6 separate regions of the Homo sapiens genome follow, and regions 2, 3, 4, 5 and 6 are each linked to region 1. The links are contacts of gene promoters, found by promoter capture Hi-C in blood cells and fetal thymus (Javierre and others, 2016). All regions are on one chromosome and are shown on one strand. Each heading gives the region's core, a stretch centred on a gene start or on the middle of the fragment in contact. The rest is flanking DNA. Distances are from core to core; before and after follow the strand shown. Region 1 holds the start of ABCA1 (ATP binding cassette subfamily A member 1). Region 2 overlaps SLC44A1 (solute carrier family 44 member 1). Region 3 overlaps SLC44A1 (solute carrier family 44 member 1). Region 4 overlaps SLC44A1 (solute carrier family 44 member 1). Region 5 overlaps LOC112268038 (a long non-coding RNA gene). Region 6 overlaps LOC112268038 (a long non-coding RNA gene).

Evidence for each region. Contacts are between HindIII fragments. The CHiCAGO score rates a contact against its expected background, and 5 or more counts as called.
Region 2: a contact is called between a fragment that was not itself captured here and the fragment with the promoter of ABCA1 in region 1, in 3 of 17 cell types (neutrophils, monocytes and M2 macrophages). The highest score is 13.0, in neutrophils.
Region 3: a contact is called between a fragment that was not itself captured here and the fragment with the promoter of ABCA1 in region 1, in 2 of 17 cell types (naive B cells and monocytes). The highest score is 5.5, in naive B cells.
Region 4: a contact is called between a fragment that was not itself captured here and the fragment with the promoter of ABCA1 in region 1, in 3 of 17 cell types (monocytes, neutrophils and activated CD4 T cells). The highest score is 12.0, in monocytes.
Region 5: a contact is called between a fragment that was not itself captured here and the fragment with the promoter of ABCA1 in region 1, in 3 of 17 cell types (neutrophils, monocytes and M2 macrophages). The highest score is 13.3, in neutrophils.
Region 6: a fragment that was not itself captured here is called in contact with the fragment with the promoter of ABCA1 in region 1 in 15 of 17 cell types (neutrophils, monocytes, activated CD4 T cells and 12 more); the score reaches 18.5 in neutrophils.

The regions. Positions count from the first base shown.
Region 1 is chr9:104,926,364-104,930,351 of GRCh38, forward strand. It overlaps ABCA1 (ATP binding cassette subfamily A member 1), which reads right to left and starts at 1,792. Exons shown (of 50, transcript NM_005502.4): 1 at 1,572-1,792. LOC105376196 (a long non-coding RNA gene) reads left to right here and starts at 426. Exons shown (of 3, transcript NR_188620.1): 1 at 426-1,547; 2 at 3,145-3,361. RefSeq lists silencers at 186-425, 1,762-1,951 and enhancers at 1,102-1,161, 1,482-1,561. The HindIII fragment of the contact is 9,744 bases long and covers 1-3,988 here.
Region 2 is chr9:105,270,805-105,274,502 of GRCh38, forward strand. The region is part of intron 1 of SLC44A1 (solute carrier family 44 member 1); the gene reads left to right. Among named protein-coding and RNA genes, the nearest start is that of SLC44A1, 28 kb to the left of the region's middle. The HindIII fragment of the contact is 5,424 bases long and covers 1-3,698 here.
Region 3 is chr9:105,316,055-105,319,847 of GRCh38, forward strand. All of the region lies in intron 3 of SLC44A1 (solute carrier family 44 member 1), which reads left to right. Among named protein-coding and RNA genes, the nearest start is that of SLC44A1, 73 kb to the left of the region's middle. The HindIII fragment of the contact is 1,375 bases long and covers 1,561-2,935 here.
Region 4 is chr9:105,297,268-105,301,232 of GRCh38, forward strand. It overlaps SLC44A1 (solute carrier family 44 member 1), which reads left to right. Exons shown (of 16, transcript NM_080546.5): 2 at 1,953-2,042. Among named protein-coding and RNA genes, the nearest start is that of SLC44A1, 55 kb to the left of the region's middle. RefSeq lists an enhancer at 1,709-2,908. The HindIII fragment of the contact is 7,345 bases long and covers 1-3,965 here.
Region 5 is chr9:105,195,685-105,199,319 of GRCh38, forward strand. LOC112268038 (a long non-coding RNA gene) reads right to left here. Exons shown (of 3, transcript XR_002956866.2): 3 at 1-3,635. Among named protein-coding and RNA genes, the nearest start is that of SLC44A1, 47 kb to the right of the region's middle. The HindIII fragment of the contact is 3,532 bases long and covers 1-3,108 here.
Region 6 is chr9:105,236,080-105,239,776 of GRCh38, forward strand. The region is part of intron 1 of LOC112268038 (a long non-coding RNA gene); the gene reads right to left. Among named protein-coding and RNA genes, the nearest start is that of SLC44A1, 6.7 kb to the right of the region's middle. The HindIII fragment of the contact is 2,282 bases long and covers 1,224-3,505 here.

The DNA of each region.
Region 1 (3,988 bases), core at 542-3,041:
GCACCTACACATAACCCTGGCACCGTCCGCCGCCCCAAGAACCTTCCTGCTTTACCAATGGCCTGGGAGTTGGCAAACACGCTAACAAAAAAAAAAACCAAAAAAACAAAAAAAAAAAAACAAAACGGGCTTTCGCCTCAACCTCATAGTTCCTCCCCGTCTGCAACCACCGGTCTTCACCGGATTCACAGTCGGAACCGCGAGCAAAGACACCTAGTAGAGCCGGCCGATTCCTAGGTCCTCCGGCCAGGAGGCGCTGCGGGCCAGTCTCCGGGGGCCACCGCAGCCCGCGCGCCCAGCACCCCCACCCTCACGGCAGAGCCCAGCCCAGCCCCGCGGCGGAGCTCCGAGTTCTGCGCCGCCCGCCGGGGTTACTCCCGGTCATTCCACGGCACCACCTCGGCCCAGCTTCCCCATCTGCGCCCAGGCAGAAGCTGCCCCGAGAGACCAGCAGCAACGGTCTGGAAGATGGGGCTGCAGGGAACGTGGGAGAGGGAGGATTGGGCACCCCACCTCCGGGTCTCCGCAGGCTCTCCTAAGTCTTGTTTTTAAAAGAAACAAAACTCGGCCGCGCGCGGTGGCTCACGCCTATAATCCCAGCACTTGGGGAGGCCGAGGCCGGTGGATCACCTGAGGTCGAGGGTTCGAGACCAGCCTGGCCAACAAGTTGAAACCCCGTCTCTACTAAAAATACAAAAATTAGCTGGATGTGGTGACGCGCCTGTAATCCCAGCTACTCAGGAGGCTGAGGCAGGAGAATCGCTTGAACCCGGGAGGCGGAGGTTGCAGTGAGCGGAGATCGTTCCATTGCACTCCAGCCTGGGCGACAGACCGAGACTTAAAGGAAAGAAAAAAAAGAAAAAGAAAAGGAAACAAAACTCGTCCGCGCTCTGCGCCAGGGACACCAGCTCAGCTGAGCGCACGGAGACTGTAGGCAGGACCTCCCTACCCCTCAGGTCAAACAAAGACCCAAGGCCTCTAGTGAGCAATAGCACCACGGACCGTTTGGGACACCTCCAACTCGAGTTCCCGGATTCACAGTCCGGGACTGTGCCGCTCCAGTCCCGGGGAGCATATAGCCAATTCCCAGGTCAGAACAGACCAGCTTCTTAAGAACCGAGTGAAGACTCAGTGCTGGCATTTGTCTCCGTAGGTACTGGCCGACCTGCAACCAGAAGGGTTTCTAGCCAGCTCAGGGCCCTCCGAACAAAGCAGCGCTCGGTGCCGGACCTGCAGCTCTCCCCACCCGGCAGCAGCGCCCTCAGCACGCCCGGGAACCCCCGACCCCTCTGAGCCCGGGGTACTGCGCCCGGGTCTCCACGCCCAGAGATGCTCCCCGGTCTCCACCGTCGGGCAAGCCCCAAGCGCAGCAGCGCAGAGTCCTGGGGTCACCAGAGCTCGTACTAGGACATCGTCTCCCCATTTAACACCGCCTCCGGTCCCATCTGAGTTGCAAGTGGTGGGGATGTGGGGCTCCGGATCAAAGTCCCCGAAACCGAGCACTTCCCGAAGCCTCCTTGGCCTCGAAACAAAACAATAACGCCCAAGTAAGTCACTGGAGAGCCTCTTACCTGTTTTCCACTTTTGTGTTTGCGTCTCTTTCTCCTACCCCTTGACAAGCCTTCCGGAGAAGGGGAGAAAACAGAACCGGGGAAAAAACAAGGAGCAAAGCGCCCTGAGAACCGGCTCTGTTGGTGCGCGGAGCTCCCCGCCCTGCCCTGCCGCAGCCCGGGAGAGAAGGGTCGGCTCGGCTCTGCGGGTCCCGGCCCCACTCACTCTCGCTCGCAATTACGGGGTTTTTGCCGGGACTAGTTCCTTTTATAGATTCGGCTGCACCGAGCGCAGAGGTTACTATCGGTCAAAGCCTGTGCTCTCCCTCCTCCCCGCCCCGTTCCCGGCCTCTGTTTATGTAGTTCAGTCACTCAGCAGAAAGCACGTGGAGCCGGGGCCCGCCCCTTAAACGGGCGACGTTCAGCCGCCCACGACACATCTAGGGAGTTGGGGGGAGGTGGGTGGGGTGGGGGTGGAGGGTACAGCAGGTGTCTTAGGGTCCGCGGTCTGCGTCCCCTTCCCCCGCCCGGGCCCGCCGGCCTAAGACGCGCGGGAAGCGCTGGGCTCGGGGCTGCGCCGCAGACTCTCTAGTCCACGTTCCCGGCAGCCAAGGGCACCAGTGGAATTTGCTTCCTCTAAATCCTGCTTTCCGCAATTTTTTTTTCCTTTGTTAGTTTCCTCAGCCGGAGGGAGGGATTGGGGGAGAGAGAGCTCTAGGCTGAATCTCCCTCAGGACGCCAATCATTTTGTCTTGTCTTTTGTTTCCTTTCAAAGGCCTAGGCTGGGGTGAGGGGAAGGCGGACAGTCCTCTGGGTAATGGGCTGCTTTTGTTTTCCCCCCACAAACCTGGACTTTGATTTTTGATAGGCGACCTACTGCCTTGGAGATTCCCAGCCTGAGCTCCCCAGGTCCCTCAGAGGACCCGAGAGGAACATCTTACTGCTTCTCTTCATAAATTGAGAGGAAGGAGGCCACAAAAACAAAAAAAGAAACAAACAAACAAAAACACAGAACAATATGGACCAGCCCCCTTTTAATTTCATTATATTGATCAGCCTCCCTGTGATAAAAACACAGGACTTGTATTTAGTTTGTATACATTTGTGAAGTGCAGCCAGAGAATTGCAGTCGTGTAAAATTATGTAGCCACTCCAGACCTCCAACTTATCTGTTTGCCTTTGGCTGTAGGGGAGCAAAACTACCCAAAACACTGGAGGGGCAAAAAAAAAGGCAAGAGTAGGAATGCAGGCCTACACACCATATGTCTAAATATTTAAGTCATCCATCAAGCCAACAAACTAAATGTCACCTTATTCTGGCCAAAACTCAGGTCAAACTGTGAAGAGTCTAAATATGAATCTGCCCTGAAGGGCAGATTCATAGAAGACTCAGGACAGACCCGTAGAAGAGGCCCAAGCAGGCCCTGGAAGTGCACGTGGAGGCCACAAGGTCTCCTACCTTGACAAAGATACCTTTGTAGCCACCTTGAAGGGCAGATTCACATTTAGACTCTTCACAGTTTGACCTGAGTTTTGGCCAGAATGAGGTGGCATGAGAGAGCTGCCCCAAGCCTACTTCTCTTCCCACCTCCAGCTCCATCATATTCCAGAACTCCCACCACCTGCATACAGACATTCAGCTGCACAAGCCCCCTCCATGCTACAGTCAACAGGATCTCCAGGCCACGGCTCAAGCCCAGGTACTCACATCAGTGGTTCTATCAACACTCAGGACAGACCCATAGAAGAGGCCCAAGCAGGCCCTGGAAGTGCATGTGGAGGCCACCAGGCAAGGAATTCTGGAGTCCCAGGTACTCATAACTCTGGGTGGCATGGCCCCTTTGCACCATGGACTGTTTGCCCTTAGAAAGGGATGGATCTGAGCTGGGCGCAGTGGCTCATGCCTGTAATCCCAGCACTTTGGGAGGCCAAGGTGGGCAGCTCACCTCAGGTCAGGAGTTCGAAACCAACCTGGCCAACATGATGAAACCCAGTCTTTACTAAAAATACAAAAATTAGCCAGATGTGGTGGCGAGCGCCTGTTATCTCAGGAGGCTGAGGCAGGAGAATCGCTTGAACCCGGGAGGCAGAGGTTACAGTGAGTCGAGATCATGCCACTGCACTCCAGCCTGAGTGACAGAGCAAGACTCCGTGTCAAGAAAAATAAAAAGAAAGGGATGGATCTCAGAAAGGCCAGAGATGAGCTTTCTAAAGCCCAAGGCCCAGGAGAGCGGACCCCCTTGCCTCAGTCAAAGAATAACCTTGGTCAATAAATTGGGTTTTGGGGTCAAACTTGACAACCACATGATGAGCAATTTACGTAAAGTCTTTCTGCCTCTGTTTCATCTTGTTTTTTTCTTTTTTCATCTTTTTTTCCTTCCTTCCTTCCTTCCTTCCTCCCCCCCTCCCTCCTCCCCTCCCCTCCCCTCATCTCCTCT
Region 2 (3,698 bases), core at 597-3,096, 340 kb after region 1:
AGTGTTAGAACAGTGCCTGGTCAATGTTTGTTGAATGAATGATGCAGTAATTGTATCAACTTACATTGTTTCTTTCTACCTCTCTATTTTTAGTTCAGAGCCCTTTGGATGAGACAGGCGTTTCTGAACAAAGGCATTCTTCCAGACTTAATTAGGTTCCCTCTTCTAGGGTTAAGTGCTTAATCTTTGCAGCATCTTAAAACGGTAAAAACTAAATTCTATTCTTTGATGCCATCTATGTAATCAGTGGTTAACTTTCACACGCTTCTTTCCTGTTGGAATAATAGATGAAAAGACCAAGCGTGGCTTTAAGTCCTTCTGTTTTATAATTCCTGGACACATTTCTCAAATTTCTGCTGCAGGTTTTCTTGTTATCCCATAATCTTGACAGGTTTTCTCTCACCTCTTGGATTCCTGCTGTCAGACCTTGTTAGGCTTGTTAATTTTCTGTATAGCATGGAATGATGGTTTTCTAGAAGGTTCTGACAAACCCTTACTCTCATTTATCTTATTGCTCCTCTGGTACAGAATCTTTCATTCCTCTCCTATGTTCCCTTGTATCTTTTTTTCCCCCTAAATTACCTCCCTTAATTCCAAGTGGGTGGAAGGAAAAGGAATGGAATTTGGTCTTAAAGGATGAATAATGACTTCGTTGGAATATCAGTAAAGGAACTCTAGTCTGCGGGAATGGTACGAGCAAACACATAGAAGTGTGAAATGTGTAATGTGTTTGGCAAAAGTGGTTTGGGATGGCTGGAGTGTGTGTTTATCTCTAGTGTGAAGTCTGGCCAGAAAGGTAGATTGTGATCTTTTTCTTTTTTTTCTTTCAGACAGAGTCTCACTCTGTCACCCAGGCTGGAGTGCAGTGGTGCAATCTCAGCACACGGCAACCTCCACCTCCCAGGTTCAAGTGATTCTCCTGCCTCAGCCTCCCAGGTAGCTGGGATTATAGACACCTGCCATCACGCCTGGCTAATTTTTGTAGTTTTAGTAGAGACGGGGTTTCGCTATGTTGGCCAGGCTGGTCTCAAACTCCTGACCTCAGGTGATCCTCCTGCCTCGACCTCCCAAAGTGCTGGGATTACAGGCGTGAGCCACTGCGCCTGGCCTGATTGTGATCTTAAATGCTAGTTCTAGGGTTATGGAAGTCTGTACTTTGGTCTCATAATATTTTTGTTTCTCTGGTGTAGAAATTATTTTGTTATGTTTTACATACTAGTTGAAAGCAAGAGTCTGTTTTTATTTTTTCCTCATCTTCAACAGTATCTAATAGAGTAGCTTGCACATAATAAGAGTTCAAAGTTGAGTTGAATTGAATTCTGATAAAATGGTTTAATTTTCCCAAGAAAATCTAGAAGCCTGGACTCTTTCTACTGAATTAATCAAAAGGAGAAAATACATAACTTTTTTAATTGTACACCTTATATGAGTCTGTACTGTAGATATTCATTTTTTTGTCTTCTTTATATCTCCTACCTCACTTTTCCTTTTTGTAATATGTAATCACCACAACAGGCAGTCTTGGGATCAAGGAGAGGGGCTTGGGAGATATTTAACTCCTCAGTATCTCCATCAAGTCCCCATTCTTTGATAGGACAGTTAATCTTTTCATAATCTTCAATGCAGTGCTATGCAGAGGCATGTTCTTGTACCTCCTTCCAATCAGAGAACTGCGTGTGTCCCTCAATGCAGAAAATCTGGAACCACCATCAAGAACAAACTTATATACCTTTGAGAAAGGCTGAGAGAAAAAAAAAAAAGCCGTATGTATTAGGTATCACTATTCTCTTTACAGGTGAAAAAGCTGATTCATAAAGGTTAAAGGTCTAAGATTATTTAGCTAGTAAGCAAATGAGTTGGAATTAGAACACAGGTCTTATATTATTTTCTTTCCTCTATTTTTTAGGTATCCCAAATTCCACTTAAGGTTGATGAATGGCCTACTGGTCAGTTGAAAAAATTCAATTTGTGTAGCATTGTCTAGCACAAATGCTGAAAGTAGGTCTCCTCATCTGCTAAGGGATATAAGCAAATTCAAAGCCTCTGGCCTTTCTTGTGACACATGCATGAAAGTAGGTAATAAAAAGAAAAGTAAATATTATTTTATGCCACAGTAAGTATAATGTTAAAATAATTTCAGTACGTTTAATTTTCTTTCATATATATATATATATGTATGTATATATAATTTTTTTTTTCTTCCTTGAGATGAAGTCTTGCTCTGTCACCCAGGCTGGAATGTAGTGGCGCGATCTTGGCTCACTGCAACCTCCGCCTCCCAGGTTCAAGCAATTCTCCTGCCTCAGCCTCCCTAGTAGCTGGGATTACAGGTGCCCACCAGTACACCTGGCTAATTTTTGTGTTTTTAGTAGAGACAGGGTTTTGTCATGTTGGCCAGGCTCATCTCGAACTCCCGACCTCGGGTGATCCACCTGCTTCGGCCTCCCAAAGTGCTAGGATTACAGGCATGGGCCACTGCGCCCAGCCCGATAATTTTTATTACAGTAAGTTTGATTAGAGTATGAGTGACCAAAATCTATTTCTAAAACATAGAGTTATTGGTGAATTAGAAGGGGGTGGATGTTATTCCTTATTGTCAACATGGTTCATGTAGACTGTGGAGATGAATGGATTACATTTGGCTTTTATTAATGCTTACAAGCTGTATTTTTCCTTTTTTGCTTTTTTCTAGTTCTTATTGAACAGGATTGATTTGAAAAATTCACATGTAAACTCAGGATGCTGGGCTCTTATATCATTTCATGGTGGATGATTTGTGTAAAATTGCAACTGAGTGAATTTCATTCAAGCAGTAGGAATCTTGAAGATGTGAGTCCATTACTAGCAAATGTTATGTTCTGAGTATATTGTCTGAGTTTTTTTTTTTACCTGCAGTCACAGAGCAGTGACAGTTCATACCATTGTACATAGCCGTATCATACTTCATTAAGCAGTTTTGTATTGCTCTAAAATCACTGTTTTTGCTTTTTTCCTCAACAATATGTGTCTGAGTTTTTTTTCTCTTAGTAGGATTAATAATAATCTACTTTCCCTGGCTGTGATGCTCTTTAGAGATCAAACAGCATTTCTAAGTTGCAAGGAATCTTCCACCCTGTTGTCTTCTGCTTTTACACACCCACACAGTCACATGTTAATGAATGTGATAGTTCTGTAGGTTATTATTTCTTTATGCATATAAATATGTTTCATGGTACTTAAAGACAGGGTAGGGTAGTAATACTGACACTGATGTTAGAGGGAAAAGTAGTGAATAAAGCCAATAAAAAAACCAGTAAAGGATATATCCATCTGTGAGGTTTTGCTTATGCTCATTATAGCAAACTCTTCATTCATTCACTAGATAAACCACTAATTCGCATTTTACCAGATGTTCCCCTTAAGCAATATGAAGCTACTCCTTTTCCGCTTTGATTCTATTTTGCAATATATCTTTTCTATCAGCATTAGATTCAAAGTTACCCCTGGACTGTGCCCTCAGTTTACTCATCTGGCCTTTGTCACTGAACAAGAATTGTACTCGTGGAGGTGTATTGGCCTTTTTGAATGAGCGTCTTCACTCCTGCCTCACTGCTTTTACTTATGATGTTCTTGTTTGGAATTTTTCTTCCTCCTATCTGAATCCTATCCTGATGAGCCAGTTCATATTCCCTCCTTTCAAGAAGCCTTCCTCTTCAGTC
Region 3 (3,793 bases), core at 998-3,497, 390 kb after region 1:
CATTTGTGAACTCTGTTTCCTGGCCATCTTCTTTGAGTTAGGCACTTGAGATTATAGTCTTGAGCAAAATAAACATACTTTTTTTTTTATCTCATGGGAATTACAGTTTTGTGGAGACAACAATAAAATCATCATACAATCACAAATTATTATAGCTATAGGAAGCGTTTTGAAGAGAGAGGTGTAAGGGTATGAGAGGTTATAATGGGAAGGCCATGAGAAAGGTTACAATGGGAGGTCCTGGCCCGGTCTTAGATACTGTGGAGTCAGTAAAAATGATGCTGTAGAAGTATGTCCATAGCATGCAATATATGCATAACATTATTAAGGGAAAAATGAATTGCAAACCAGTATGTACAGCATGATTTTATTTATAAATGTAAAAATATACATGTACATAGAAAAGTATAGAATGACATGAAAATGTCAACAGTGTGATTAGCTGTTGAATTATGGATGGTTTTAATTTTATACTTATCTCTTTTTTCCTAAGTTTTCTATAATCGATATATACATTACTTGGGTAATGGAAAAAAAGGATAAAAAGACATCTGTAGTCCCTGTGCTTGAAGACCTTGCATTCTAGTGGGGAAGACAAAATACATAGAGAAATTATGACAGTTCAGTGATGAAATGTCATGTAAAAGTGTTGTCTATTGAAAGCTGAGTGACTCCACTTTCCTGAGTTCCTAACAGCAGGCTGGTGGGGAGAGGAAAAGAAGGCAATTTGGTGATAGTACTGGAACCACCATTGTATTACTTTCCTAATGTTGCTGTAACAAATTACCATAAAGTAAGAAGCTTTAAACAATGAAGTTCTGTAAATCGGAAACTGAAGCAAATTCATTGCTTTTAACAACGAAGTTCTGTAAATCAGAAGTCTGTGCACAGCATGGCTTAGCTGGTTGCTGTGGGTTTTGAAGGCTGAAATCAAAGTGTTGACAGGGCTGTGATTTTTTTCTTGAGGTTCTAGGGAATGAATCCTCTTCCAAGCTCATTGAGGCTATTGACAGAATTCAGTTTCACATGGCTGTAGGACTGAGTTCCTATCTCCTTGCTGGCTATAAACTGAGAGTCAGTTTCAGCTTCTGGAGGTAACATATATTCTATAGCATATATTCTATGGCTCATGACTCCCATCCTCCAGCAAAATTGGGTCAGATTCTCAGTCTTGAATCTCTCTGACCTCCCCTTAGGGCAGCATCTTGGTTGCAGGTTGTACATATGAGTTGAAGACTCTCAGCCAGTGACAGGGTTTCAGGGACAGGGTAATTTTAGGCAGAGTTTTGGAGCCTCATTTAGGTATAAAGATGCTAACTAAATTTTCAGAAGGTAAGTTTATGGAGATGTCTTTGAAAATATTTTTTGTCATATTTTGGGGGTTCAAGGCAGGGCTTGCATTTTATCAGGGTAAAGTCAAGTAAAGTCGGCTGTGGAAGGATGGTACACATAATGGTGATTGGACGAAGAGGTGACTAGATGGTTATGAGGGTTTGGGGACTGAGAGGTGGCTCCAGGAGCCCATCTTCTAGTGAAGATGGAATTCTGATTAGAATACCAAGCTTGGTTCTCACTGTCTGAGGAATAGTGTGGTTGAGTCTACAGGTTGGAATTCTTGTTGGCCATCCTAAAGCCCAGAGAAGACTGGCACACACAGGAAGGTGCTCCTGACTCTATCTTGTACTCCTGACTCTATCTTGTGGAGTTGTAGAAGCTCAGAAGAAGAGAGGTATACATTTGTCCATTGGACTAATTCTTAAGTTTTACAGAGTATTCTCCCTACCTGTTGTCAAGGTATTCCTCAGAGCAGCCCAGTAGATCACCTACTTCTTCCCACACTTAGGGATACGTTTAAACAAATGGAGATGCTCTAAGCCTTTGATGAATTTGGCTTTGCTTTGAGGGAAAGCACTCCTCTCTCTGTCTCCTGTCAGTACTCTCTGATTCTAACTCTAACCTACTGTCACTCCCACTTTAGCATAAAGTGGAAAAGAGCAGCCTAGATAGATACCTCACATAAACTTGTATTTGAGAACTTATTTCCTCCCAAATTTACAAGCATTTGGAAATAGTAACATCTGTGACGTTCTAAATGAAAACTTATTGTATTATTTATACAGGTTTTTTTGTTTGTTTGTTTTTTGAGATGGAGTCTCGCCCTGTCACCCAGGCTGGAGTGCAATGGGCAAGATCTCAGCTCACTGCAACCTCCGCCTCCCGAGTTCAATAGATTCTCCTGCCTTAGCCTCCCAAGTAGCTGGGATCACAAGCACCTGCCACCACACCCAGCTAATTTTTGTATTTTTAGTAGAGATGGAGTTTCACCATGTTGGCCAGGCCAGTCTTGAACTCCTGACCTCAATGTTCCCCCCACCTCAGCCTCCCAAAGTGCTGGGATTATAGGCGTGAGCCACTACACCCGGCCTATACAGTTTTTTTCCTAAACTTTCATTCCCTCTCATGGAAAATATTAGAAGTTGTAAAGACGCTAACTAAATTTTCAGAAGGTAAATTTATGGAGATTTTTTTGTCATATTTTGTGACCATACTACTCTTAAGCCTAAATTTTTAAACTCTTTACAAAGGTAACATCTGTATTGCTAGTGCATTTCTGCCTTTAGGATAATACTTGCTGTGGAAAATACTGCGAGCAATTTGAAAGAGGAGATCCAGCTACGTACCTTAGAAAATGCGGGAGTTCAAAGTCAAAATGTTTTGCCAATTCTAAATAGGGAAGTGAAAACCTGTTTAACAGAATTAGATGACATGTATGCAGCTAGGCGGCAAGGAAGGGATGATTGGTTTTTCTCCGTGTTGTTTGACTAGGTGTATATGTTTGCCATGTCTAAGTTAAACAGCTGGTACAAATGCTCAATCTGAAGTCTCACTACTTGAGTTGGTTCTAGGTTACCTGACACCTGTGAAGATTTTTACAAGCTTTAGTCATTGTTCATGAGCTGATAGACAATGACCTTTGTAATATACTTCAGGTAATTATTAACTGCTTCAACTATGAGTTTGATGGCAATCAAGTGGGTTTGCCACCCACTTGTGTTTACCTGGGTGTCAGAGTTGAGGGCATCTAAGAAGTTAGAGGGCACACAGTCCACACACAACCACCCTTATATCTGACCCCAATTGCAAGATCAGGGGTCCATAAAACCACCTATTTCCTGGCAAATTATTTGCCAGGAAGACTTGCAGAACTCACTGAACGCTACTGTACTCATGGTTATGGTTTATTTTTAGGAAAGGATATAGAGTAAAATCAGCCAACAAAAGGAGTGCATGGGGCAGAGCTTCCATTGTTGTCTCCCTTGGGGAGAGTGGAGTACACGGAGTCCGAGCACAGTACTTTCTCAGTGTCAGTGTGTGACAATACACAGAGTATGGCTAACCAAAGAAGCTCACCTAAGCCTCAGTGTTCATAATTTTTGTTGGGACTCCATTATATGGCTGACTCAGGCTCCAGTCTCCAGCTCCTCTGGTCAATTTGATACCATGTGATCCCAAACTCTTAATCTAAACAACATTGTTGGTCTTTCTAGGGTGGTCGACGCCCACCCTAAATAGTATGTGGAGTGGTCTACCCCAACCCTAAAACACATTGTTAGACTTCTGTGACCCAAGAGCACCAAGTAAACAAAGACACTCCTATAAGGCTTAGAAATTAACTCCCAGAAGTGAAGGGCAAAGTCCAGATCTCTTTCTGAGTAAGGTTAAATTCTTACTACACACTGGGGCTCATTAAATTAAATTGGATTTTGTAAAGTCGATTTTCAGGAAGAAATTT
Region 4 (3,965 bases), core at 1,061-3,560, 370 kb after region 1:
ACTCCAATTCTCCGCCCTCATTGTTGATAGGCAGATATTTTAAAGTTGTGTTTTTTCATCTGGGGTTTGAATTCCCTAAATTCTTATGAAAATTATGTGAATATATGCTTACTTTTTTTCTTTGTTTGTTTTTGAGATGGAGTTGCGCTCTTGTTGCTCAGGCTGGAGTGCAATGGCGCGATTTTGGCTTACCACAACCTCCGCCTCCCGGGTTCAAGCGATTTTCCTGCCTCAGCCTCCCAAGTAGCTGGGATTACTGGCATGCACCACCACACCCGTTTAACTTTGTATTTTTAGTAGAGACGGGGTTTCTCCATGTTGGTCAGACTGGTCTCGAGCTCCCGACCTCAGGTGATCGCCCGCCTCGGCAACCCAAAGTGCTGGGATTACAGGCATGAGCCACCATGCCTGGCCTGTGCTTACATATTAAGAAAAGAATCTGTAGTTTTCATCAGGTTATCAAAGGATACATAGTTCAACACTATGGTTTTAGAGGGAGAGAGAACTAAGCCTGGTTGCACTCTATATATACTAATTGTACCAGAGGGCTCCCTTATCTCCAGCCCCCTCCTGCTCATGCCCTTTCCTCCTGACAAGACTTTTCCAAATAGCTTCCTGGATCTTGTCACGGAAGCCACTGGAGGCCTGAACCTTCTCAGAGGAACCTTTCCCATAGGTTTTCCAAGGATACCTTCTTTCTCCCTTCACTGCTTACTGTTTCCAGGAGAGGGTGTGAGACTCGGGCATTTTTGTTCATTAGAAAGCTCAGGGGGGTTATTTCAGTTAGATTTCCATTAAAAGGGATTTGTGAGCTGACCCGAGATCCTAAGACTATTGAAATAAGAAAAAAAAAAATGCAGTTGGAATTCCAGTCAATACTTTGCAAGTTAACTTTTAGAATGCCGCTAGTTCTGTAGTTCAGGATTCTCTGTGTTTGATCTAGAAACTAACATTTTCTAGGAACAAGATGAAAATGCATGGATTGTTTAGGAGCTGCACAGATCTGTCTATAGAAACTGAATTTTTTTTTGACTTAGATAAATCTACCCCTGAATAGGAATCCCGTTTTTGTTGTTGTTGTTGTTGTTGTTTGTTTGTTTTTGAGATGGAGTTTTGCTCTTGTTGCCCAGGCTGGAGTGCAGTGGCACGATCTTGGCTCACTGCAACCTCCGCCTCTTGAATTCAAGCGGTTCTCCTGCCTCAGCCTCCCGAGTAGCTGGAATTACAGCCCACCACCACGCCCAGCTAATGTTTGTATTTTTAGTAGAGACGGGGTTTCGCCATGTTGGCCAGGCTGGTCTCAAACTCCTGACCTCAGGTGATCTGCCCGCCTCGGCCTCCCAAAGTGCTGGGATTACAGATGTGAGCCACTGGGCCCGGCCTGAATAGGAATCCATTTTGATGGGCATCTTTCCTAGAAGAGAACATATATATAAACAGCACATTCTAACTTTTTTTTTAAGTTTAGCATCTGGACACACAAAGAAAAAGCTAGCATTAAGAGTGAAGTTGGAAGAGTGTATTCATTTATTTATTCATTTTTAAAAAGCCCTCACTGAGTACATATTATGAACCCTCAGGCATCATGTTAGATGCCGAGAAATAAGCCTGGTCTCTTCCTTATGACACTCACAGTCTGCTGGGACACAGCATAACAAATAAGAATGACAATTTAGCCTGCTAAAAACTCTAATACAGGTACCAAAAAAGCGATGAACTCAGTACCGGGCCTGGCCAGGAAGAGGGGTGGGAGTAGGGCCAGTGGAGTTATTAGCTGTGGGGGTTAGCATAAACGTCACAGAAAAGGTGACAAATATTTGAGTTGTGTCTTAAAGGTTCAATAGAAACTTGTTTGGCAAAGAAGGGCTCTAGCTATAGCTGGTGTATTTGTGCCCTTCTAACTTTAACTAAACTTAGCATTTAACACTCTCTTATTTTGTATTTCCAATTAGAGCTCCAAACGAGAATGGAAGCCGCTGGAGGACCGTAGCTGCACAGACATACCATGGCTGCTGCTCTTCATCCTCTTCTGCATTGGGATGGTAAGGAAACTCTCACAGATGGTCCAAACTGGACTCATGATCCAAGGGAATGACGAGTAGTTGTTTTAATGAGGGCAGTTGTGGAATATACCAGTCCTCATACAATTCAGTGGTATTTTGTGTCACTCTTGATTTGTTTTTCTACATGAAAACTGAGCTCAAATTAAGGAGCAGCTGGGACTCATATGCCATTCAATAGACCATTTCAGAAAGCAAATCATTTGACGTAAGTCTCTGAATGTTGATCTTGATAGAGTGGTGAGCAAAACAGTGACCATGAGTCATGAGCCCTGCATATTCACCCAACCCAGTCACACCAACTTGTTGGTTATCTTTAGGGCAGTCATTTCCTCTCAGGGACTTGGTGTTCCACAGTTCTTCCTAGATGGGAGGCTGGTTGCTCACTGCTCCTTCCTCCTTCTGCCTGTCCTAGGCCCCTGCTGCCTTCTGTGTCTGCTGTAATGAGTGGCATCTTTCGATTGGAGATGAAGGGACCTGGTGGTTTTCCAACGGCCCCTGCTGCCTGCTGTGTCTGCTGTAATGAGTGGCATCTTTCAATTAGAGATCAAGGGACCTGGTGATTTTCCAGTGGGTATAGAGAATGGAGGAGCAGAGTTGCTGGTATAAGGTATTAAGGATGTGCACATTCAATTGCATACTCACTCTGCCCTACAGGAGTTTCTGACACAGACTTCAGTGGCATTAGAGTCCCTGCCAGTGTGCTGGGCTGGAAAAAACATAGAAAACTGCTATTTTTAAAGCGGTCTGATATTTAGAAGTAGAAAGGACATGGAAATCCTCATCTAGTCCATCGCCCTTATTTTACAGATTAAAAACATCAAACTCAGAGATGGAAATTACTATCCCAAGGCCACACTGCTAGTTCATGACAGAGCTGAGAACAGAGCCCAGGTCTGTTCACTTCCAGATCAATGCTGTTTTCTAACACCCCATTTCCTCTTCCTCAAGGGGACTCTGCAGATACATTATTGCTCTCTCTTTCTTAGTCTTCTACAATTCAAAATGCAATTACACTACCTCAGGCAGCCTTGTTCCTACTCATGTGTATTTTTAACCCCCTTCTTACTATACCTTTTATAGAGTTTCTTTATGAAAATCTTGCTCTTTGTCTCCTCTGACTGCCCACCAGGCCAGCGCCATTTGTGAATCACAGAACAACTGTCATCTTGGCTAATAGGCACAATTGTAGGTACCAGTTCTGCCTCTGAGAAAAGGAAAAGAAAGCAATACATTTTAATGAGATACGATAAATCCAGTAAAATAAGGAGTGTTTATTTTAAAGATAAAAGCACCGTTTCACCAAATTTAGGATATTTAGGAAAGGTCAAAATACTCATCTCCTAACTTAATGACTTAAAAGATATTGCTCAAAAGTTTACTTAGTTTAATGGAATGGCAGCTGAAATATAACATGCATGAATGTTTATGCAGCGTGTGGAGAAAAAAAATTTTTTTTTTTTTTTGAGACAGAATTTTGCTCTTGTTGCCCATGCTGGAGTGCATGGTGTGATCTCGGCTCACTGCAACCTCCACCTCCCAGGTTCAAGTGATTCTCCTTACACAGCCTCCCAAGTAGCTGGGATTACAGGCATGTACCACCACGCCCAGCTAATTTTGAATTTTTAGATGGGGTTTCACCGTGTTGGCCAGGCTGATCTCAAACTCCTGACCTCAGGTGATCCACCCATCTCGGCCTCCCAAAGTGCTGGGATTACAGGCGTGAGCCACCGCACCCTGCCATAGAAAGATTCTTTGATAACAGAATTAGTCCACAGCCTTTCCCCACTCCCTGAATGTAACCCTGGGACAAATAGCAGCTGACCTTTCAAAATTGTTTACAAAAACATGTACCATGCCACCCGAGGTGCTTTGGATTTTCTGTGCTAAAACAGGTCAGGAAAG
Region 5 (3,635 bases), core at 93-2,592, 270 kb after region 1:
ACTTCTGAGGAGAGAGAGGAGGGAAAGAAGAAAAGATGCCATATACTCGAAAGGATGAGCCTATACTGAGAAATAATCTGCCATGTGCAAGAAAACATTCTTGGTATTCCTGCCTTTCAAAATTAGAACAACCTAAGTGTCCACTATTAGAGAAATGATTAGGTAAATTACAATCTATTCAGGAAATGGCATATTGTTCAGCCATGAAGTGTTTATTTTGTTTTGTTTTGTTTTGTTTGAGACAAGGTCTCGCAGCTCTGTTGCCCAGGCTGGAGTACAGTGGTACTATATTGGCTCACTGCAACCTCTGCCTCGCGGGTTCAAGTGATTTTCATGCCTCAGCCTCCCGAGCAGTTGAGATTACAGGTGCTTGCACCAACACCCGGCTAATTTTTGTATTTTTAGTAGAGATGGGGGTTTCACCATGTTGGTCAGGCTGGTCTCGAACTCCTGACCTGAAGTGATCCACCTCCTTGGCCTCCCAAAGTGCTGGGCCAGCTCGCCCCCCGAAGTGTTTATTTTGAAGAATGTATGGCAGCAATGAAAAAAAGTTTATGTAATAATAAGCCAAAAAAAAAAGCAAAACAGAAAATCGAATTGTGTTGTAATCTACCTATCAGTTTATGTATCTGTACCAGCATTAGACAGAGGGAAAAGCTAGCAGTTGGGTCGGGGGAGTCAGGTCAAGATAGAATCCTGAGGAACACTGACATTTATGGTATATTCCAGGAAGGCATACCTTCAAAGGAGACAGAAAAGATGAAGCAAAGAAGCCATGAAAAGGAGGGAACTAGGCTGGGCGCGGTGGCTCACACCTGTAATCCCAGCACTTTGGGAGGCCGAGGCGGGCGGACCACGAGGTCAGGAGATCGAGACCACTGTGAAACCCAGTCTCTAAGAAAAATACAAAAACAATTAGCCAGGCGCGGTGACGGACGCCTGTAGTCCCAGCTACTCGGAAGGCTGAGGCAGGAGAATGGCGTGAACCCGGGAGGCGGAGCTTGCAGTGAGCCGAGATCGTGCCACTGCACTCCAGCCTGGGGGACAGAGCAAGACTCCGTCTCAAAAAAAAAAAAAAAAAAGAAAAGAAAAGAAAAAAAGAAAAGGAGGGAACTGACAGCATGACATTATAGAAGCTGAGAGAAGATGGCACATTCAAGGGGTCTGGCACTTAATGTCCATTACCACATTTAGTCCTCACAAAAGGCTTGGGTGAAAGATCCCCTTATACCCATTTTGCTGTAAGCAAAGTAGGTTTCAAGAGGCTGAGCAAGTTGGACAATATCCCAGAGTAAGGGAGAGATGGGATTTGAGCCAAGGTCTGCCTCTAGGTATAAACCAATAAGTATCTGAGGCAAGTCTCAATCCATTTATTAGGTTGGTGCAAAAGTAATTGCAGTTTTTGCCATTATAAGTAATGGAAAGTTTACTTTGCCAAGGTTAAGGACACACCTGTGACACAGACTCAGGAGTTCCTGAAGACGCGTGCCCAAGATGGTTGAGGTACAGCTTCCTTTTATACACTTTAGGGAGATATAACACATCAATCAATTGAACCATTTACATTGGTTCAATCTGGAAGGGTGGGACAACTCAAAGAGTGGGGTGCTTCTAGGTCATAGGAAGATTTAAACATATTCTGATTGGCAATTGGTTGAAAGACTTATTATCATTAGAAAGAAATGGCTGGGTTACAATAGGGGTTGTGGAGACCTAGGTTTTATATCTCCAAGTAGCAGGCTTTAGAGAAAATAGACTGTAAATGTTTCTTATCAGACTTAAAGTCTGTGTTGATGTTACTGCTGGAAGGGTATAATGAGGCATGTCCAACCCCTACTACCCATCATGGCCTCAACCAGTTAAATTTTAGGGTGCCCTGGCAAAGGAAGGAGACCATTCATATGGTGAGGAGGGCCTTCAACTTTTATTTTTGGTTTACATTCGCAAAGCATGTGCTCTTTGCTTTATACTAGGCTGCCTCCCTGCCATGTTAGAAAGATCTTCTGAATTTATATGAGGTCATGGTTTAGGTGGGATTAGTCAGTTGTATTTTCTCATCAATACATGTATTTTTATTTTTATTTTTTTTGAGATGGAGTTTCAGTCTTGTTGCCCAGGCTGGTGTGCCATGGTGCGATCTTGGCTCACTGCAGCCTCCGCCTCCTGGGTTCAAACGATTCTCCTGCCCCAGCCTCCTGAGTAGTTGGGATTATAGGCGCCTGCCATCATGTCTGGCTAATTTTGTTTTTAAATTATTTTTAGTAGAAACACGGTTTCGCCATATTGGCCAGGCTGGTCTTGAACTCCTGACCTCAGGTGATCTGCCCATCTTGGCCTCCCAAAGTGCTGGGATTACAAGTGTGAGCCGCTGTGCCTGGCCAATACATGTATTTTCCATTCAATACATATGGGGGTTCATTCTCTCACCCCTTATCAGAACAGAGGTCAGGGAGGAGGGGAATGGACCTGCAGGGTGATGGATTAGTATGGGGATTGCAAACTCCATTCCCTACAGGGCAGTTAGGGTAAAAGGGGAAGTAAAATTAGAGCAGGCGCATACTGTCAACAGGGGCAGGAATGTAGGAATGTGGCCCACTGTTTTCAGATATCCCAATTTGTTTAGGGGAGCCCAAAATCTGGATTTTATCTTTCTTTGCAAAATTGTTAATTTTTTATGTTGGGAACTAACTAGAAACTTTTTTTTTTTTTTTTGAGATGGAGTTTCACTCTTGTCACCCAAGCTGGAGTGCAATGGTGCGATCTTGGCTCACTGCAACCTCCGCCTCCCAGGTTCAAGTGATTCTTGTGCCTCAGCCTCCCAAGTATCTGAGATTACAGGCCTGAGCAACCATGCCCAGCTAATTTTTGTATTTTTAGTAGAGACTGGGTTTTGCCATGTCAGGCAGGCTGGTCTCAAACTCCTGACCTTAGGTGATCCACCCACCTCGGCCTCTCAAAGTGCTGGGATTACAGGTGGGAGCCACCATGCCTGGCCCTAACTAAAAACATTTTTAAACACTGTGCAGACTAAATAAATCTGTGGAGTCCATAGGGTCCAGTTTTAGACCCCTGGCTGAGCTCTCCAATGACAGAGTTTGTCTTCAGGGAAGCTTACCCTCAGTGGTGCTGATTCTATGGAAAGTCAATCCTCAAGCTAAGAGGAAATCCCTCCGGGCTGCAGCTAGGAAAAGGAGCAGGCCTTGGATGGGGCACTTCTCTTTCCATCTTCCTTCCCCAGCTAGTCTCACTGGGCCCATCAGTCAACTTTCCATGATGAATGTTTTGTTGGGTTCTGTTCCATGGAGTTAAAGGAGCATGGAGTGTCTCTCATCACAGCCCCTTTTCTAGGAAAATAAATGGCCAACTCCCTGGAGTTGAGGATTTTTTTATGCAATGACTTTCCTCCACGAGATTTATTGCAGCAGCTTTGTGAGAGATTTGTAGTAAGTAGTGTTGAGGCTGTAGGTCTTAAATCTTCAATGCCACAGTCATAACTCTCCAGGAAGGAAATGATAGAAGATCACAGTAGCTAATATTGCATTATGATGATACTGCCTTCCCAGAAATGATTGCAGTCTTGCTGCTGCTGTCTTACTTAGGAAACAGGAGCTCTTCAAATGTGCTTGAGATGTCTG
Region 6 (3,697 bases), core at 1,115-3,614, 310 kb after region 1:
AGGTCAGGAGTTTGAGACTAACTTGGCCAACATGGTGAAACCCTGTCTCTACTAAAAATACACACACAAAAAAAGTTAGCCGAGCATGGTGGTGCACACCTGTAATCCCAGCTACTTGGGAGGCTGAGACAGGAGAATTGCTTGAACCTGGGAGGCGGATGTTGCAGTGAGCCAAAATCGTGCCATTGCACTCCAGCCTGGGAGACAGAGCAAGAAAAAGAAGGGACAATCTGGATTTCTCCTGAATTTAAACTGAAGACAGGGTATACATTTTTGGGGGATGGAGAGAAGACGGTCTGGAGAACCTTAGCATAGTTTCTCTTTCCTACTTTTGAGGAAGCCATAAATGAAACTCTCCAGGAAGGAGCATAGGGAAGCTAGTGACAGTCATGAGCAGGCCCTTTGGGAGGGGAACAGCATGTCATTTTTGCTTTAGTACTCTTTTAAAATGTCTTTCTACATCCCTGCAACTAGCTGAGGGGGAGTAAGAGAGCAAAACTGTCAGACCAGCAGCATCTTAATTATGGAGATTAGAAATATTTTATGCAATTGACACAGCCTCTCCTAAATTACATAGTATTAGGGAAAACGACTCTGTCTAGCACCAATGAAAAAGGAAGAAAGGACATCTCTGAGAAAGAACAGGTGGATTTTGACAGTTTGTCCAATAAAATAATAATAGGGAAAGAAACTTCAAAAACCAAGCCAATAGTACACTTTTCATTGCCTTACACAAATCTCTTAACAGGACTTGAGGGAAGCTGGGAATGATTGTAGCTAAACTTCAAATTGCTAGTCCAGCAATGTGTGCAGACCCTGTAGCCCGCTCTGCCTCCCCATTCCTCCATGTTGTTCTGTAGCACCACACTAGGAGACAAACTATTGGAGCACTTGGGAAGTGAGTAAGTTGGTGGTCAAGTCAGGCTTAATTTCCAAGGAGTCTATGTCCTTTGCTCAGTGGGAGAAATATCAGTTAGTATCCCCGAAGTGGTACCTTGGTATTCTCAAAAAGTTCAATTACTTCCCAAGGCCTAGTAATTTCCTGCCAGGCACAGAGCATCTGGTTCTATAAGAATTGAGGCCCACTGAAAGCATTCCGAAGACTGAAGGCTTTGGTAAGGAATATGGAAGACTCCTGTCAATCATACTTAGGCACCATTTTTCTGAATTGGAGAGTTGATGAGTAGGGGCATAGCTCTAACACCTACTGTTTTTATTGTTTAAGCTTTCCTCCCTTTAGTCCTCCCTGTAAGATACCACCATAGTGATCATTTTAAAGCAAAAAGCCTACCGTATTACTACTTTACTCAAAACCCTCTGAATTTCTCTTATCTGTTAGGAGGTACAAATTCCAAGGCCTATGAATGCCAGAGGGTAATGTAGATAGGAAAAACTGGCCCCTGTCAGAAGAGACTTTAGAGAGTGTTTGAAACTGTGACAAACAGAAGAGCTCAAGCCAAGATCTCCCAACCTACATGTTCTTCTTACAGTGTGACATTGATAATTCCTCAAGGGTAGGGTTTGGAGAGCACCGATGGTCCCTTCCCTTGAATCTGAATGGGCCCGTGCCTATAGCAAAAGTGATGCTATGTGCTACCTGAGGCCAGGTTATAAAAGGTAATGCAGGCTGGCCACGGTGGCTCACACCTGTAATCCCAGCACTTTGGGAGGCTGAGGTGGGCAAATCGCCTGAGGTCAGGAGTTCAAGACCAGCCTGGCCAATATGGTGAAAACCCATCTCTACTAAAAAATACAAAAAATTAGCTAGGCGTGATGGCACATGCGTGTAATCCCAGCTACTTGGGAGGCTGAGGCATAAGAATCACATGAACCCAGGGGGTGGAGGTTGCAGTGATCCAACATCACGCCACTGCACTCCAGCTTGGGCAACAAGAGCAAAACTCTGTCTCAAAATAATAATAATAATAACATTAAATAAATAAATAAGTAAAAGGTAATGCAGTGTTAGTCTGGTCCTCTAAAGATGCTCACCCTGGCCGAGCGTGGTGGCTCACGCCTGTAATCCCAGCACTTTGGGAGGCCGAGGCAAGTGGATTAGCTGAGATCAGGAGTTTGAGACCAGCCTGGCCAACATGGTGAAACCCTGACTCTACTAAAAATACAAAAAGTGTGGTGGCAGGTGCCTGTAATTCCAGCTACTCAGGAGGCTGAGGCAGGAGAATTGCTTGAACCCAGGAGGTGGAGGTTGCAGTGAGCCCAGATTGTGCCTTTGCACTCCAGCTTGGGTGACAGTGAGACTGTCTCAAAAAAATAATAATAATAAAATAAATAAAAATAAAAATAATTAAAAAAAAAAGATGCTCACCCTTAGAACTCAGCTACCAAGCTGTGAGGAAACCCAGGTCATGTGGCAAGGCTCCAAGTAGGTATTCTGGCTGATGGCAAACAGTTAGTATCAACCTCCGGGCATGAGTAAACTTCAAGATAACTCCTGCCTCATAGCTAACTGCAATCACCTGACAACCCTCAAGCGAGAACCGCTTAGCTGAGCCTACTCTGTTCCCCCAATGGTGAGAGTTGATGACTGCTGTTGTTTTAAGTCATCAAGTTTTAGTTTGGTTTGGGATACAACAACAGATAACTGGAACATGCAATAGATCTTATTGATTTCTAAGCCTGCACCTTTGCTTAAGTCATTTTATACCTGAGAGTTCTCTTTTTCTCCCATCATCTTCACTTATCCAAAGCTACGTGTTAAGGACCAGCTGAAACACAATTTATGAAGCCTTTCCTAATCATTGCATTTGTGACCTGTTCTTTCCCTGTACTCTGGACACTGTATATGTTCTTCATGATTAACAGGTCATTCAGGAGAACCCCCTCCCTGTCCTTAATAAAATAAAATGTTTTATAATATTAAAATATTTAAATATAGTTTTTTTAAGTACATGCTTTTGTCAAAACTACAAAAAATTCAAAAGTTATAATTCAGAACATGTCTCTCTTCTGTCTGGTTCTATTTCACCACGATTTATCCCCACCTCTTCTCCAAAGGTTACTGCTGTTAACAGATTGGTACATATTCCTCACAACCTCATCTACACAAACATGCACACACGTGCTTGTGCACACACAGTTTACATCACACACACACAACGATTGACATGAACAGGATTCCATCATAATCCTGTTTTGTAAACTACTGTTTTTAGTTGATGGTATATTTTAGTTATGCATAGCCCATGTCATTAAATACAGATTGCTCTTACTTTTTAACAGTTGCATAGTGCTTCCTATTATTTAAGCAATTACTTAACCAATCTTCTGTTTATGGAAATTTAGTTTTCTCTCAATTTGTCCTTATTAAAAACAAAACTGTATTGCTGTTGGATATTCTCAGGGTAAGAACTGCTGGGTTAAAAGAATACACCTTTTACATTTTGATACAAATTCTTAAACTTCTCCCCAGAAAGAGGGTAACTATTTATATCACCATTAATCATGTATAGAGTACTGTGACCTTCTCTCACACTGGTTATTATTAAGCTTTTAAATCTTTGCCAATTTGCTAGGTGAGGAATGATGTCTCCTAATTTTTAAGCTTACAGTTTTATTATTAGTAAGGCTGAGCAACATTTCACGTTTTATTAGTTCTTGTATTTCTTTCACTGTGGATTTTGTCTGTTATGTCCTTTACTCATATTTCTGTGGAGTGGGTTTTTTTTTCTTTTTTCTT